Regions from separate parts of the Homo sapiens genome. Here region 1 is linked to region 2. Evidence: promoter capture Hi-C in human tissues and cell types (Jung and others, 2019). All regions are on one chromosome and are shown on one strand. Each heading gives the region's core, a stretch centred on a gene start or on the middle of the fragment in contact. The rest is flanking DNA. Distances are from core to core; before and after follow the strand shown. Region 1 overlaps IGFN1 (immunoglobulin like and fibronectin type III domain containing 1). Region 2 holds the start of TNNT2 (troponin T2, cardiac type).

The links. Contacts are between HindIII fragments. The study calls those that stand out against the background at their distance.
Region 1: a contact is called between a fragment that was not itself captured here and the fragment with the promoter of TNNT2 in region 2, in 1 of the 25 tissues and cell types used here (IMR-90 fibroblasts).

The regions. Positions count from the first base shown.
Region 1 is chr1:201,225,178-201,232,674 of GRCh38, reverse strand. IGFN1 (immunoglobulin like and fibronectin type III domain containing 1) reads right to left here. Exons shown (of 24, transcript NM_001164586.2): 22 at 6,552-6,851; 23 at 5,467-5,793; 24 at 3,723-4,289. The coding sequence ends at 4,276. Among named protein-coding and RNA genes, the nearest start is that of IGFN1, 38 kb to the right of the region's middle. RefSeq lists an enhancer at 6,127-7,119. The HindIII fragment of the contact is 5,710 bases long and covers 218-5,927 here.
Region 2 is chr1:201,374,998-201,382,043 of GRCh38, reverse strand. TNNT2 (troponin T2, cardiac type) reads left to right here and starts at 4,364. Exons shown (of 17, transcript NM_001276345.2): 1 at 4,364-4,421. It overlaps LAD1 (ladinin 1), which reads left to right. Exons shown (of 10, transcript NM_005558.4): 10 at 151-1,211. The coding sequence ends at 156. RefSeq lists enhancers at 1,758-2,521, 3,858-4,395, 4,396-4,933, 5,338-5,834. The HindIII fragment of the contact is 17,386 bases long and covers 1-7,046 here.

The sequences.
Region 1 (7,497 bases), core at 1,823-4,322, 150 kb after region 2:
ACCAACAGTGTAAAAGTGTTCCTATTTCTCCACATCCTCTCCTGCATCTGTTGTTTCCTGATTTTTTAATGATCGCCACTCTAACTGGTATGAGATGGTATCTCATTGTGGTTTTGATTTGCATTTCTCTGATGACCAGAGATGATGAGCATTTTTCCACGTGTTTGTTGGCTACCTAAATGTCTTCTTTTGAGAAGTGTCTGTTCATATCCTTTGCCCACTTTTTGATGGGCTTGTTTGTTTTTTTCTTGTAAACTTGTTTAAGTTCCTTTTAAATTCTGGATATTAGCCCTTTGTCAGATGGGTAGATTGCAAACATTTTCTCCCATTATATAGGTTGCCTGTTCACTCTGATGGTAGTTTCTTTTGCTGTGCAGAAGCTCTTTAGTTTAAGTAGATCCCATTTGTCTGTTTTGGCTTTTGTTGCCATTGCTTTTGGTGTTTTAGTCATGAAATCTTTGCCCATGCCTATGTCCTGAATGATATTGCCTAGGTTTTCTTCTAGGGTTTTTATGGTTTTAGGTCTAACATTTAAGTCTTTAATCCATCTTGAATTAATTTTTGTATAAGGTGTAAGGAAGGGATCCAGTTTCAGCTTTCTACATATGGCTAGCCAGTTTTTCCAGCACCATTTATTAAATAGGGAATCTTTTTGCCATTTCTTGTTTTTCTCAGGTTTGTCAAAGATCAGATGGTTTTAGATGTGTGGTGCTATTTCTGAGGCCTCCGTTCTGTTCCATTGGTCTATATCTCTGTTTTGGTACCAGTACCATGCTGTTTTGGTTACTGTAGCCTTGTAGTATAGTTTGAAGTCAGGTAGCATGACACTTCCAGCTTTGTTCTTTTTGCTTAGGATTGTGGATATGTGGGCTCTTTTTTGGTTCCATATGAACTTTAAAGTAGTTTTTTCCAATTCTGTGAAGAAAGTCATTGGTAGCTTGATGGAGATGGCATTGAATTTATAAATTACTTTGGGCAGTATGGCCATTTTCACAATACTGATTCTTCCTATCCATGAGCATGGAGTGTTTTTCCACTTGTTTGTGTCCTCTTTTATTTCATTGAGCAGTGGTTTGTAGTTCTCCTTGAAGAGGTCCTTCATATCCCTTGTAAGTTGGATTCCTAGGTATTTTATTCTCTTTGTAGCAATTGTGAATGGGAGTTCACTCATGATTTGGCTCTCTGTTTTTCTGTTATTGGTGTATAGGAATGCTTGTGATTTTTGTACATTGGTTTTGTATCCTGAGACTTTGCTGAAGTTGCTTATCAGCTTGAGATTTCGGGCTGAACCAATGGGGTTTTCTAGATATACAATCATGTCATCTGCAAACAGGGACAATTTGACTTCCTCTTTTCCTAATTGAATACCCTTTATTTCTTTCTCTTGCCTGATTGCCCTGGCCAGAACTTCCAACACTATGTTGAATAGGAGTGGTGAGAGAGGGCATCCTTGTCTTGTGCCAGTTTTCAAAGGGAATGCTTCCAGTTTTTGCCCATTCAGTATGATATTGGCTGTGGGTTTGTCACAAATAGCTCTTATTATTTTGAGATACGCTCAGATTCTATACTTGACTGGCAGGGACTTTTTTTGGCTTTGTGTGGAAATGAATGAAAATGCCATGACCATTCCTTTTGTCTTCATATCCCACCCCAGTTACAGAAGTATGCTAGCCCCTCCCAGGGACACCTAACTTGGCCTGCCCCAGGATATTGGCACTCTGCTGTCCACTGCCAAAAGAGACAACTGCTTTCCACTGTCCCAGGCCTCCAAGGGCAGGAACTCCACCTCCATCGTGGTTGGCGCCCAGAGCACACATGCACCTGTAAATTTGGTCCTAGAATGTTTCCCTTTGGCATTAGACCAAAGGGCTGTGATAGCTACATAGGTCACCCTGAATTGTCTAATCTGAACCATTTGCCAGCCCTCGAACCCAATTTGTGCTTCCCTACCTCCTTGCCTTTGCTCATGGTGTTCTCCACCGTGATACACCCTTGCCCATTCCTGCCTGTCCAGTTGCTACTTTTCCCTCAAGCATGTTACCACTTTACGAAGCCCTCCTTGAGGTTCTCAGTCTGCAGCATCTCTCCTCCTCTGAACTCCTCTAGACTTTATTGGTGCCTTTCTTAGAATATGCATCACAGGCTACCTTGGATTATGGCTCTTGGTATTCAAGTCTTGCGTCCCTGCCATGGATCCCTTGGCTATAGGACTCATATCTGAGTCATCTTCATCTCCGCCTCCACAGTGCCTGATCCAGGCTCATAAAAAAAAAATGAAGGTGTCTTATGAAGCCATCATGAGTTATAGTCTTTTGTCCTTATATTGCCTCAATAGGTCAGTCCCCTGTAGCCCACCCTTAGAGGTACAGAAAGGTCTCTCTTCTCATCCTCAATATGAGTGTCTGCTCAGAGCTAGGCATGCCACAGGCACTGGGTCACCCCCTCTGTGCAAACGACCTCTTCTCTGCATTTCTGAAACCACAGACTATTGGCCTGAGGCCCTGCCCTCCTTCAACTCCAGGACCGTGCAGCATGGAAAGAACTCATGAGAACTGCCCCACACAGGCTGAGGTGTCCAGCCACTGCCTCTCAGTTTCTAAGAACTTCCTTCTTTTCCTATGGCCATGGTGTTGGCCTGCTGTGTTAGCAAGGTAGAGATAACAAGAGAAATTCCAAGGAAAACAGCTCATGCAGGTTTCTTTGGTAGGGGAAGGAATGAGCTATAAAAGGTTGTCTGGTGTGTGTCCCTGCCTCTGGGGGACACTCTTGGTCTATTTTAGGTGAACAGTTCTCTCTCCGGTTCAGAGAACCTTCCCTTGGTCACATATTCTCACTCTTCAGAAACAGATTTTTGGCATTAACCCTTCCTCCTGTGATTCACCCTCCTTCCTTCATGCATCTGACCTGCAGTTAGTGGCAAAGGGAGGCTGAGGGAAGCAGAAGCCAGGATCTGAGCAGAGGGAGTGAAGGGCAGACAGTGTTCTAGCTCATCGGGTCACCTGCTGGGCCTCAGAGCTGATGCCCTGGGAGAGAGTGGGGTTCAGCCTTCCCCGGGGCTCCTTCCTTTCTTTTGGCTCCTGGAAACTCTGGAATATTTCCTGGGAGCCTGAGAGTTTGGGGGCCATGCCTTGAGGATAATGGAGTGCAAGAGTTCTGGGGGCAGTGGTGGGGTGACCCACCTGGGAAAGGGAGGCATCCCATCCCTCCTGTGACATGGGGCAGTGGGGACTGTGAAGAAGGTGAGGAGGCCTCATGCAGCCTTGAGTGAGAGTCACCCTCATGCACTTGAGAGCCTCTTTCTTCCCCTTCTGACAGGGGCATAGATCCTGGAGTAGGATTCTCCCCAACTCAGACTCTTTCTGGTCCCGGGGAGTGACGGACATAGGCCAACCCTAGGCAACCCCAGCCCTGTGGTCCCCACACACGTAACACCTGGGGAGGCCTCCAGCCCTGCTGCTCACAGGATTTCTGCCAGTCAGAAGAGTGCAGGAAACAAAGGCCAGGAGGAAGAGAAGCCTCTCCATTACCCTCTAACCCTTCTTGGCTTTCTCGCCCTTGCAATCAACTATGTAGGCCTGGGCTGCAGGAGAAGAGTCCAGTTCTGAGCCCGTTCTTCCTCTATCCAGAACCCACCCATCCTCCCAACTGAAGCCTGGAATAAAGGCTCCGCTTTGGAAATCTTTCCTCCAACACACCCACCCCAAGTAAATTTGCCAATGATCTGCCTGTATTAGCCTAATGTTTTAATGAAGAAACGCATAGAAAGCACTTGCTGCACCCCTGGAATCTCTTGAATCCAGGAGGTGGAGGCTGCCCCCACCCACACACACGACCTTGATGCCCTAGTCCTCACCCAGGTCCTCTGACCTCCTCTCCTCTTCCCTCCCAGTGGTCACAGCAGGCCCAGCTGTGCCCACCCTCCCTCCAAACGGCTCAGCCCAGGAAAATAAGGAGCCGGCCCATCCTGCAGGCAGGTGCCCTCTGGATCTCCTGAAGCGAAGAAGAAAGAAACCCATATGGTGAGGGTCCAGGAGGTTCGCTGTCATTCTGTTGAGTGACTTAGCTTGGAGCCAGGAGGTGGAATGCCCTCCTCCCTTGTTTTTCTTCCCCAAGGACTTCACGTCCTCCTGGCCAAAACCTCGCCAGGCATCTTCTCACTCCCATTTTCCTGGGGCTCTGGGCACAGCCTCCATCCTTGGGATTGGCTTCCCGGGCCAGTGCAGGTGTCGGAAGTGAAGCTTCAAGGGTCCAGGACCATCCCAGGGTGAGGTGAGGCTAGGTGCTGGGTTCTGCAAGACACAGGATATTCCAGTTGGTTCAGAGGGGCAGCCACCCCACCCTGCATCTGTTCAGTGGTGAAGAAAACTCAGAATGGGGCTTAGACTACAGGCTCTGCCATCAGGGGGTGTGGGTTCAAATCTGGAGCCACCACGTGCTCTCTAAGCTTGGGCAAAGCCCTTTGCTGGCCCCTCGGGGAACCATAATCACCCCCAATGCCATCTTCGTTCCGGGACTACATGTGTACACAAGCTGGGGTGTTTCGAGAGTGGCTTCCTAAATGCCTAAGCACAGGTGCTACAGAGAGGAGAGATGCTCTGCTCCAGTGCAAAGGGGCCGTTTTTCCACAAAGGTCAATTGAGGCTTGCCTTTTATTGCTATTCAAAATATAAGGTGTTTTAAGTACTATCGAAGGAAAAACCTTTATTAACATATATATCTGTGCTACTGAAAAGGAGACTACCAATGAGAGAATCAGCATGGCTTTCTAGGCACTAAGTGTTCATATCTTGACATACTTAAGAAACAGCAATACGGATGCCTGTTCATCTCTCAGCCTGCAATGTGTAGCGTGGCCCCACTGGGAAGCTTAGGTGAGCAGTACACAGCCCTTCAATCAAGAGTTGCTCACCAAGTTCAAATACCTCATTTTAAAAGTGGGCAAATCTGCCGGGCACAGTGGCTCACACCTGTAATCCTAGCTCTTTGGGAGGCCGAGGCGGGTGGATCACCTGAGGTCAGGAGTTTGAGACCAGTCTGGCCAATATGATGAAACCCCCCTTCTATTAAAAATACAAAAAAATCCGCCAGGTGTGGTGGCGGATGCCTGTAATCCCAGCTATTCAGGAGGCTGAGGCAGGAGAATCTCTTGAATCCAGGAGGTGGAGGCTGCAGTGAGCCGAGATCATGCCATTGCACTCCAACCTGGGCAACAAGAGCGAAACTCCGTCTCAAAAAAAAAAAAACTAAAAATAAAAATAAATTTTTTAAAAAGTGGGCAAATAAAGACCACATGTGGGCCGGTGTTGGTAGGTTAAATAGCTGAAAGTTCATAGAGTCAGGCAGAGAGTCCTGGTCTCCTGACTCCCGGCTGAATCCCTCTAGGCACCCCCCGGAGCCTCCCTGACAGGCAGGTGGTTGCTCTCCTGGCTCTCCTTCCTGCCCCACTGCCAGGGCAGCCACCATTACCTATGACAATGAGGGTGGCAGTGCTGACTGCCTGGCCCAGCGTGTTCTCAGCCACAGCCTTGTACTCCCCGCTGTCCTTCGGGGATACGCTGGGGATGGTGAGGGAGCACACGCCCAGCAGGTCAGTGCTGTACACCGCGGGGTTTCCTTCCAGGCTGCGGTCATTCTTGAACCAGGTGACGTGGGGCCGGGGCGAGCCCTGCACGGCACAGCTCATGCAGCACTCGCAGCCCTGGGGCAGCAGGTGGGACCGCAGGCCCACCAGGAACCGGGGCTTCTGGCTCAGGTCGGGCTCCCGGTAGCACGGAGCCTTCACTGTGAACCTGTCTGTGGTGAAAGCCGGGGTGAGAGAAGAGGGTGAGAAAGCGAGGAAGGCCTGGCTGAGACCCGGGTCTGGGTAAAGAGTTCATGAAGCTACCATGTAGGCCTTATCTGGGATTTCCTGCCACATCTTGCCTGCAAATTTGGACCCCAAGGCTTGCCTCATTCTATCCTTTTCCTAAAATTCTTTATGGATTTTTTTTTGTAGCTAATACACATTCACTGTGGACAATTAGAATACACAGAGAATCAAAGGAGAAAGAATAAAAACCAAATCATAATCTCACTACCTATAGATGACTATAGCTGACATTCTGGTGTAGAGCTTTCCTGAAATTTTTGTATTTTATGAAAATGAAACCTTGATTTGATTTTATAGCCTGCTTTTCTGTGACTGATCTTAAGGTCCACATCTACTTTGCGGTAAAATATACACTTTGTTTTCAGAGAAACATTAACCTCTATTTGCCTTATTGTCTGTGGCTGCTTTTGAAAATCCTCCCAAAGGCACCTCAGACACCAAAACACCCACACCAATCTCATTCTTCCCACGGAGGTCGGGGTGCAGAGGATGCCAGAACAGGTGGGTGTGAGGCAGGAGCGGGAGGAGCAGCAGCTCGGGGCTGCTGGCTGTTATTTGGCATGCTCCAGGCCATCCCTGCCACAGTCCCTATCCTGCGCGCTTGCCATGCTTGGGTGCATCCCACTGCATTGCAGAGCGCAACCCCCACCCTGCCTGCTCCTCCCTCTCAGGGGCTGCTTACCGCGCTGCCGGGGGATGCACCAGGGCTGGCTGGTGTCCGAGGGTTTGCTGGCCCCCAGCTCATTCTTGGCCACCACCCTGAAGTGGTATTCGTGGCCGGGGAGGATGCCCAGGAGGGTGAAGCGGTTGGTGTGGATGCGGTCGGCTGCCTCGTGCCAGGGACCGTGCGCTGAGGAGCGTGTGAACACCGCGTAGTGCAGCGGGACATCCTGGGCCTCGTCAGGAGAGGGTTCCCACTCGGCCGTCACCGTCCCAGGCACGTTCTCCTGCAGGTGGATGGGCCCAGGGGCCTGCGGGCATGCTTCAGGAGAGACGGCAGAGGGAGGTCACGTGGAGGGGACCCAGCAGGGCTGCTACCAGCCCCCTCCAGGTCCCAGGACTTCTGAGGGTCCTGGGGAACGCAGTCTTGCCACACAAGTAGCTGGACCCAGAGTAAGCTTGGCCAGCGGTCCACAGTTATCTCTAGAGGGTAGAAAATCTCCCCAAAAGAGTAATTTTAATTCACTTCAGTGTGTTTGTTTGTTTGTTTTTTGAGACGGAGTCTGGCTCTGTCACCCAGGCTGGAGTGCAGTGGCACGATCTCGGCTCACTGCAAGCTCCAACTCCCGGGTTCACGCCATTCTCCTGCCTCAGCCTCCCAAGTAGCTGGGACTACAGGCGGCCACCACCACGCTCGGCTAATTTTTTGTATTTTTCGCAGAGATGGGGTTTCACTGAATTCACTTCAGTTTTTAAGTAAAATGACACAGGACAAGGCATGCATTTTTGGACAGAGGCAGGGCTCTCATGAAGCTGCATTACAGAGCCCCCACTGTTAGTCTATTTGATCATTTCTGGATATCCAGAAGCTCCTCCAGGGCAGGGGCTGTGTGGAGCCACAGCTGGGGAGGAAAGCCTTTATCCTGTGCAACGGCTGCAGACAATTTTGTCCCCTGGGTCTTTGGAGT
Region 2 (7,046 bases), core at 3,115-5,614:
GCCCCTCCCTCTTCAGCTGGCAGATTACAGGGCTCTGACTCCTTGTGGGTGTGGGGCTTGGGCAAAGGGATGCCTTCCTATCCAGTGGCCCCCTTCCCCTTCCATCCCTGACACCCCATTGACTTGTGCTAACAGCTCTTTGCCCCACAGGTGTGACAAGCCCCGCCAAGACAGACCTGCAAGTCTTCGTCTCAAGGGACCTCCCTCATGCCAGGCCCCTGCCTCTCACAGCAGCACCCTTTCCTCTCATTGTCCCTGTTCCCTTTTTGCCTGTGGATCTGTTTGGCCAGGGTCCCTGGGGTCAGGAATATTTGCAAGACTCAGCCAGCTCCTTCCCAGCCCAGCCTCTTGGGGCTGGGACTTTCTCACCCTGCGGCAGGCACAACAGATGCTGGGACCCAGTCTCTGCCCAGGTCACAGCACAAGTGCACATCAGCACTATGGGGCCTATGTCCTGCCCAGAGACCTCTGCTCCTTCCTGCTCACATCCACAGTCAGGGCACGGCGCCCCTCAAGAACTCCAGAGTCACCTGTCTCATCGGCTCCCAGCAAGTGCCTCTTTGTCTATGATGTCCCCCTTCTCTGAGGCCTGGACCCACCCATCTTTGTCCCTGGGGCCTGCTCCCAGCCACTGAGGCCCGCTCTGGCCAGGGGAGAAGGAGCTGCCGTGCGTCTTCCCTGTGCCCCGTCTCCCTGCTTGGTTCTCCCCTCCCTTCCCTGGCCGGCTGCCATGGCCAGGAGCTAAGTGCCTTTTTGTGTGCAACCACTTACCCTTTCTCTGAAAAACCTGTTCTCAGGAAGGATCTGATAAACTCATTTACTCTCAGGTGTAAGAGACTGATGAGACCTTAGAAGCGAATTCCTCTCTGGAGGCCTTGCTTTCTAGCAGAGGTCACCTGAAGTGTGTGAGGAGGATCATCATTTTCCTCATCCCCCCTCTTCTCACATTAAGGTGGTGGCTTGCCACTCAGCAGTCCTAGCTTGGTGACTGGGAACTGCCACATACAGGGCCAGGCCTACCCTCCTTCCCCACAAGCCCCCTCCAACCCCCACCCCCATGCTCTGGACCTCATGGCTCCTATGAGCTTGGAGCATGGTGAACCATCAGAGAATCTAGAACCAACCAAGCTAGGAACATCAGCCTGGTGCCCTGTTAACCCCTTAAAGCTGTGGTTTACAACTTTTCAAAAATTTAAATCATTAGAACTCTCCATCTTGATTGACTGCCCTAGTTTTACCCAGAATCAGCTGGGGATGTGGCCAGGTGCAGAGCCCCCTGCCCATTCCCCCTTTGCATGCCTGGGGAAGCTCCAGGTCTTTTTGGAACACGACCCTTAACACGGCTCCTAAGGGGGTATCACCAGTCCAGTTCCCCAAGTGTGTGGGGGATGAGCCCTAGCCCTACTCTGTGACTCTGGGTGAGGGCTCCTCAGATCTGTGCCCCAGGGGACAGGCCCTCAAAGTGCCATCCGTGCTCAGGTCCCAGTGCCCCAGGCTGACCCACCTCTGGTCAGTGAGTCTCCTGTGCCTGAGTGAGGGATATCGGGACCTGGGGTCCCTGCCCCGAGCACCTCCCACCCACTGCTAGTGCTGGGGCTTTGTGAGTGTTCCAACTTCATAGCCGAGAGTTGGAGGACAAGGCTGGGGCAGGGCCGAGGAACGGATTGAGTCCTGCCTAAGCCTCGGGACATCTAAACAGCTCTGGCTCTGCCCAGACCTCAGGTGTGACCCTGAGCCATTTTCCTTCTCTGAACTTCAAGCAGATGACCTCAGAGAACTTTCATATGTTCATGCCATGATAGGTGAACTTTTCCAGTAAACAAAACTGTCCCCACACAGAGGAGAGGCTCCTGGAGGCCTTCACCTGGCAGGGCCTGACCGTGGAGTAAGAGCCTAGGAAGACACTGAGGGGCCTGTTCCTGCAGCTGCAGCCTCAGCAGGGCCCTTCATGCCTGCACCCCCCTCCCCTGGGGTGCCCAGTGAGGGCTGACTGCTAGGGGAAATGTCGGGGTGCTACAGCACAGCCCCCTCCCCTGTGAATCCAGCACGTGAGGGCCCTGCCCTCGTTCCTACTGGGGACGCAGCCAGTAAACAAGGAGACCAGGGTGTGCCCAAGATGACCTCAGCTGGGGATAGATGAGTGGTAGCGACTGGGTGTCCAGGCGGGTGGGGAGGCCTCTGGATGGGTGACATTGGGCACCTTCTGGAGACAGAACAGGGCTCCCACACACCACTCCGGGCTGCACCCTCCTGCTGTCTTGCCACAGGGGCCCTGTGCCCCACAAGTGGCCCGTCCTATTGTGGATCCTCAAATTTACATGCACTGTTTCAGCATAAGCCTCCCATTCCACTCTGGCTTTGTTTTCTCTTTACATCCCTTTGAAAGGACAGGGATATAAAAAAAAAATGGGCTAAGAGTAACCCTACTATGCCCAGGAGTGGCTGCTGCATGGGGGCTGGATTTCCTTATCTGAGAGGCTGTCTCACAGCGCTCTGAACGAAGCTCCTGCCTTAGAACAATTCGAAGCCATACACGTGTGGCCTGTGACACCAAGGATCTACTGGGCTTTTCCCATGGGGCTCAGTAGTGACCTAGGTGCCCAGATCCCTCTTCTAGGCATCCATGCAAATAAACCGTGGTCTGTTTGAAAGGTTATTGGGCTTACAAGGAACAGTAACCCACCCTCAAGTTAAAAAAGGGTTTGGGAAAAGTAATTCCGAATTCTACGTTACTCCAGGCCAGGACCCAAGGCAAGGCTGGGCCCTGCTTCGTGGGCTAGAATGGGAGAGAGAGATGATGGGGCTCCCCCCACTTTCTTGACAGCCTGACTCCTTCCTCACTATCCCTCGGGAATCTGTCCCCTCCATCTGCCTGTCTCTCTACAAAGTGCCCCTGCTTCCCTGTGGTGGTCCTCAGTCCCACAATGCTGGCCAGCGGGCGGTTGGCTTCAGCTTGCCCTGCCACAGATGTGCTGGCAGTGTGGAGGCCCACGTGGCAGGGCAATCAAGGCCACTGGACTCAGAGGCCACAGGGAACTATGGAGGGGATGGAGTCAGCTGAGTGATGGGACAAGAGTCTGACAGCAGCATGGGTGTGGAGCAAATGGCAGTCCCCTGCGCAGAGGACCCTTTCAAGGACATTAGTGGTGGAGGCAGCATAGTAGCTCCCAAGGCAGAGGGATTGAGAGAAGAGTTTGAGGACTGGGAAGGCGGGACACATGATTGGGTGATGGGAGAAGGGGGCAGAGAATAGCGAGATTGCTTTCTTTGCCCACGGAGAAACAGAGGAGTGTGGATCATGAATGGGCAAGATCTTTAAGTGCCAGGGGGGGTCATGGAGGAGGGGAGGGCCTGCTCCAGAGGAGGACCATTCCTGCTTCAGAGCCAAGCAGGACCTAGGCTGTGAAGATTCGGAGAAAGAGATGGAGGGGAGAGTCAGCTCAGCTGCTTACTGGCTTGCTTTCCTCCTGTCTCTTTCATTTTCATAATCTACCAAACCCTGCAATGGGCCAGCCTTGAACATACAAGTGCATGTGCATGGTCAGACACAGGCAAGCAAGCAAGACCCCTAGGCCTGACCTATGCATCTGCAATCTAGTAGGTTTAGCAGATCATAGCCCCGCACTGCTTGATTTTAAAGCCGTTAGGGGATGACCTTTGACAGTCCGCATCACCCCTCTCACACAACGAGCGCCTGTTCAAGGTTCTTGACTGGAAGTTCTACCTTGTATCTGGCCTCCTGTAGCAGTTTCAGTCCATTCCCTGTGAGGAGGGTGTGCCACATGGCTTTGGGGGTCATGGAGAAGACCCACCTTGCAGATGTCCTCACTGGGGCTGGCAGAGCCGGCAACCTGCCTAAGGCTGCTCAGTCCATTAGGAGCCAGTAGCCTGGAAGATGTCTTTACCCCCAGCATCAGTTCAAGTGGAGCAGCACATAACTCTTGCCCTCTGCCTTCCAAGATTCTGGTGCTGAGACTTATGGAGTGTCTTGGAGGTTGCCTTCTGCCCCCCAACCCTGCTCCCAGCTGGCCCTCCCAGGCCTGGGTTGCTGGCCTCTGCTTTATCAGGATTCTCAAGAGGGACAGCTGGTTTATGTTGCATGACTGTTCCCTGCATATCTGCTCTGGTTTTAAATAGCTTATCTGAGCAGCTGGAGGACCACATGGGCTTATATGGCGTGGGGTACATGTTCCTGTAGCCTTGTCCCTGGCACCTGCCAAAATAGCAGCCAACACCCCCCACCCCCACCGCCATCCCCCTGCCCCACCCGTCCCCTGTCGCACATTCCTCCCTCCGCAGGGCTGGCTCACCAGGCCCCAGCCCACATGCCTGCTTAAAGCCCTCTCCATCCTCTGCCTCACCCAGTCCCCGCTGAGACTGAGCAGACGCCTCCAGGATCTGTCGGCAGCTGCTGTTCTGAGGTAAGGCTCGGGCAGGGCTCTGGGGAAGAGGAGAGCAGAGAATGGACGGGGAGATGTGAGGGTCTTGGGCCCTGGCATATTTACCCAGAGTCTGCCTGTGTCCGCAGAAGTCCATGGCCCCTCCTGGTGGAGGCCACACTTCAGAGGACAGGTTGCCAGGTCTGGGCTCCAAGATTGGTACAATAGAGCAGAGAGAAAGAGAGAATCCCATGGTAGCCATTGGAGACTAGGGTTGGAGTCCTGGACCTGCCACTAAAGATGTAGAGTTTAAACTCTTGGATGAGTCACTTTCCCTCCCCAGGCCTCAGTTTTCTCATCTGTAGAGTGGGCTAAATATTTGCTAGGCCTCTGCCTGCTCTAAATACAATGAGGCTCTAACCAACAGAGACTCCCCTAAATTGCTTGTTCCAGGCCGAGGGTCACCTATACCTTTCCAGTCAGGTCCTTCTTGAGTCCCAGGGAGCAGAGCGAGACTGCAGCCCTGTCAGTCAAGTGAGTCTCCTGGTCATATTCTCAAGGCTAGGAACTCAGAAACTGTCCTGGAAGTACTGAGAACGACCAGATGTGCAGGGTCCTCTGCAGCGCCTCTCCAGGCCAACGCGGGAATTCCATTTGATGCCGCTGACTCAGTGCCATTCCCTCCCAGAGCTGAGCTGAGCTCCCAGACCCTGAGCTGAGCTGCACTTGGGGGGCAGATGGGGAAAGGCCCCACTGGGAGAACCTGTCCTTGGGTGTGAGCCCAGCTGGTTGGCATTAAAGGGTTTAACCTGGGCCCCCGTAAGTGTAACCCTTGTCCCATCCCACCCCAACACCCCATCTTGGGACAAGCCTTGCTCTGTGCCCAGGAGTGGTAGAGAAAGATTCCCTTGGTTTCTAGTTTCTCCTGGGCAGGCTGAGGACTATTCAGGGAGGGGGTTGCCTGGTGTGTAAGGAATTTCAGAGCACATTCCTGGCCTGCTGTAGCCGGGAAGCTACCTGCCCTCCCAAATTCCTTTTCTGACCCATGTCTTAGAGGGCGAATCTTCCTTCTCTCTGCAAAAGTGGAATCTGAGAGGATCAGGTTGCTGGCTGCCTCCTATTTCTGACCCCCACTTCCACTCTTCCTGCCCTCTCCCCATCCCCTTACCCCCGCTCTCCTGGTGGGCTAACAGCTGTTGGCTTAGGAAAATCCCATTCGAGTGCTGGGGACAAGGACTGAGGGGTGGGGCCTGTGTTTCTCAGAAACTCGGAGACTGTTTCTACAGGGACAGAACTCAAGGCTCTCCTGCTTTGTAGTTGGTTAACTGAAGTCAGAGAGGCTAGGTGACTTAAATAAGGCCACACAGCAAAATCTGGGTTTTAAGCCCAGATTTTTTGACCCCAAGGTCAGTATGCCTTATGCCTTCTATTGTCTTTGCTTTACTCCCCAAGAAAGGTGACCCTGTGAACGTGTTAGGCTTCCAACACGTGTTGGCTATGAATGCATTAGGCTAGAAAGCTGCCTGTGGAAGTGGGTGGGACTTGGGTGTGAGGACACAGGTGTTTCAGGACATTCTGGTTCCTTGCCCTGCCAGGTTCTTGACTCTCTCCCATTCTGCAGCCCCCAGTCTCAGCCCACCTCTTTCCCCTGCATCAGGTCCTGCCTTTGAGCCACTGGCATGGTGGTGTCCTCTGGGCTGGCTGAAAGCCCTCCTCCATCCTGCATGTCTGCATGCTATTTTTGGGAGCTGGATGGTGCCCCCAGGAACAGGGAGAGGAGTCCAAGCTGCTCTGTCCTCCTGTGAGGCCCCAGCACCATGCCCAGTGGCTCTGAACTGGTGGAAGGGCAGAGTAGGAGAGGAGAGAGAAAGCTAGAAGCTATGCGCCCAGGCTGGCCATGCACGGTTCCTCTGAGAATTTTCTCCCTCCCACTGAGGGACAAGCTTCTCCTGGGGCTCAGGTAGGAGCTCCTCAAGTTCTCAAGTCACTAGTTCTGGCCGCTCCCCTGGGGCTTTGGGTAACAATTGTCAGCCCCACCCATCCTAGGGTTAGGAAGGCTATTCTCTTTGGCCACTCTCATCCTAAGACCTATTTGGAGAACCTCTGGGGTTTGAGTCTTTTTTTCAGCAGAATGAGGCTTGATCCCGCATTATAGCACCTCGCACATTTGATGTCTCTTCTTCTCACCCACTCACCCCACCCTGGGGGTTGGGGCAAAAAAGTGGCTCAGAGCTGCGGTTCAGAGCTCCTTGTAAACAAGGCTCCTCCCTCACTGTCCTCACCCTGCTCCAGCAGAGGGAGCAGCGGAAGGACCACTCTGCTGCAGCCATGCTTGTTTCTAACCCAGCAGAACTGGACATAATGGGAACAGGGTCTGAAGACAATCAATCCAGGGCTGCAGTGGGTGCTGAGTCTGGGGAAGCCTCCACCTGGAGGGGCAGCTGGGCAGTGGCAGCTCCCTTGGAATGGCTCAGCCTCTGGACATCACCCCACCCAACCAGAGCCCTGGCTCTTGCTGGATGTCCACAGATGAGTGCCTGGGATTGGTCTCAGCCACTATGGGGGGGATGTGCAGGGAGAGGTGATGAGGGAGTGAGCAGGACTGTCTATGTGCCTCTGTCCTCATCCTGAGGCTTGGGTCTGAAATTGGTGCTGCAGCACTGGCAC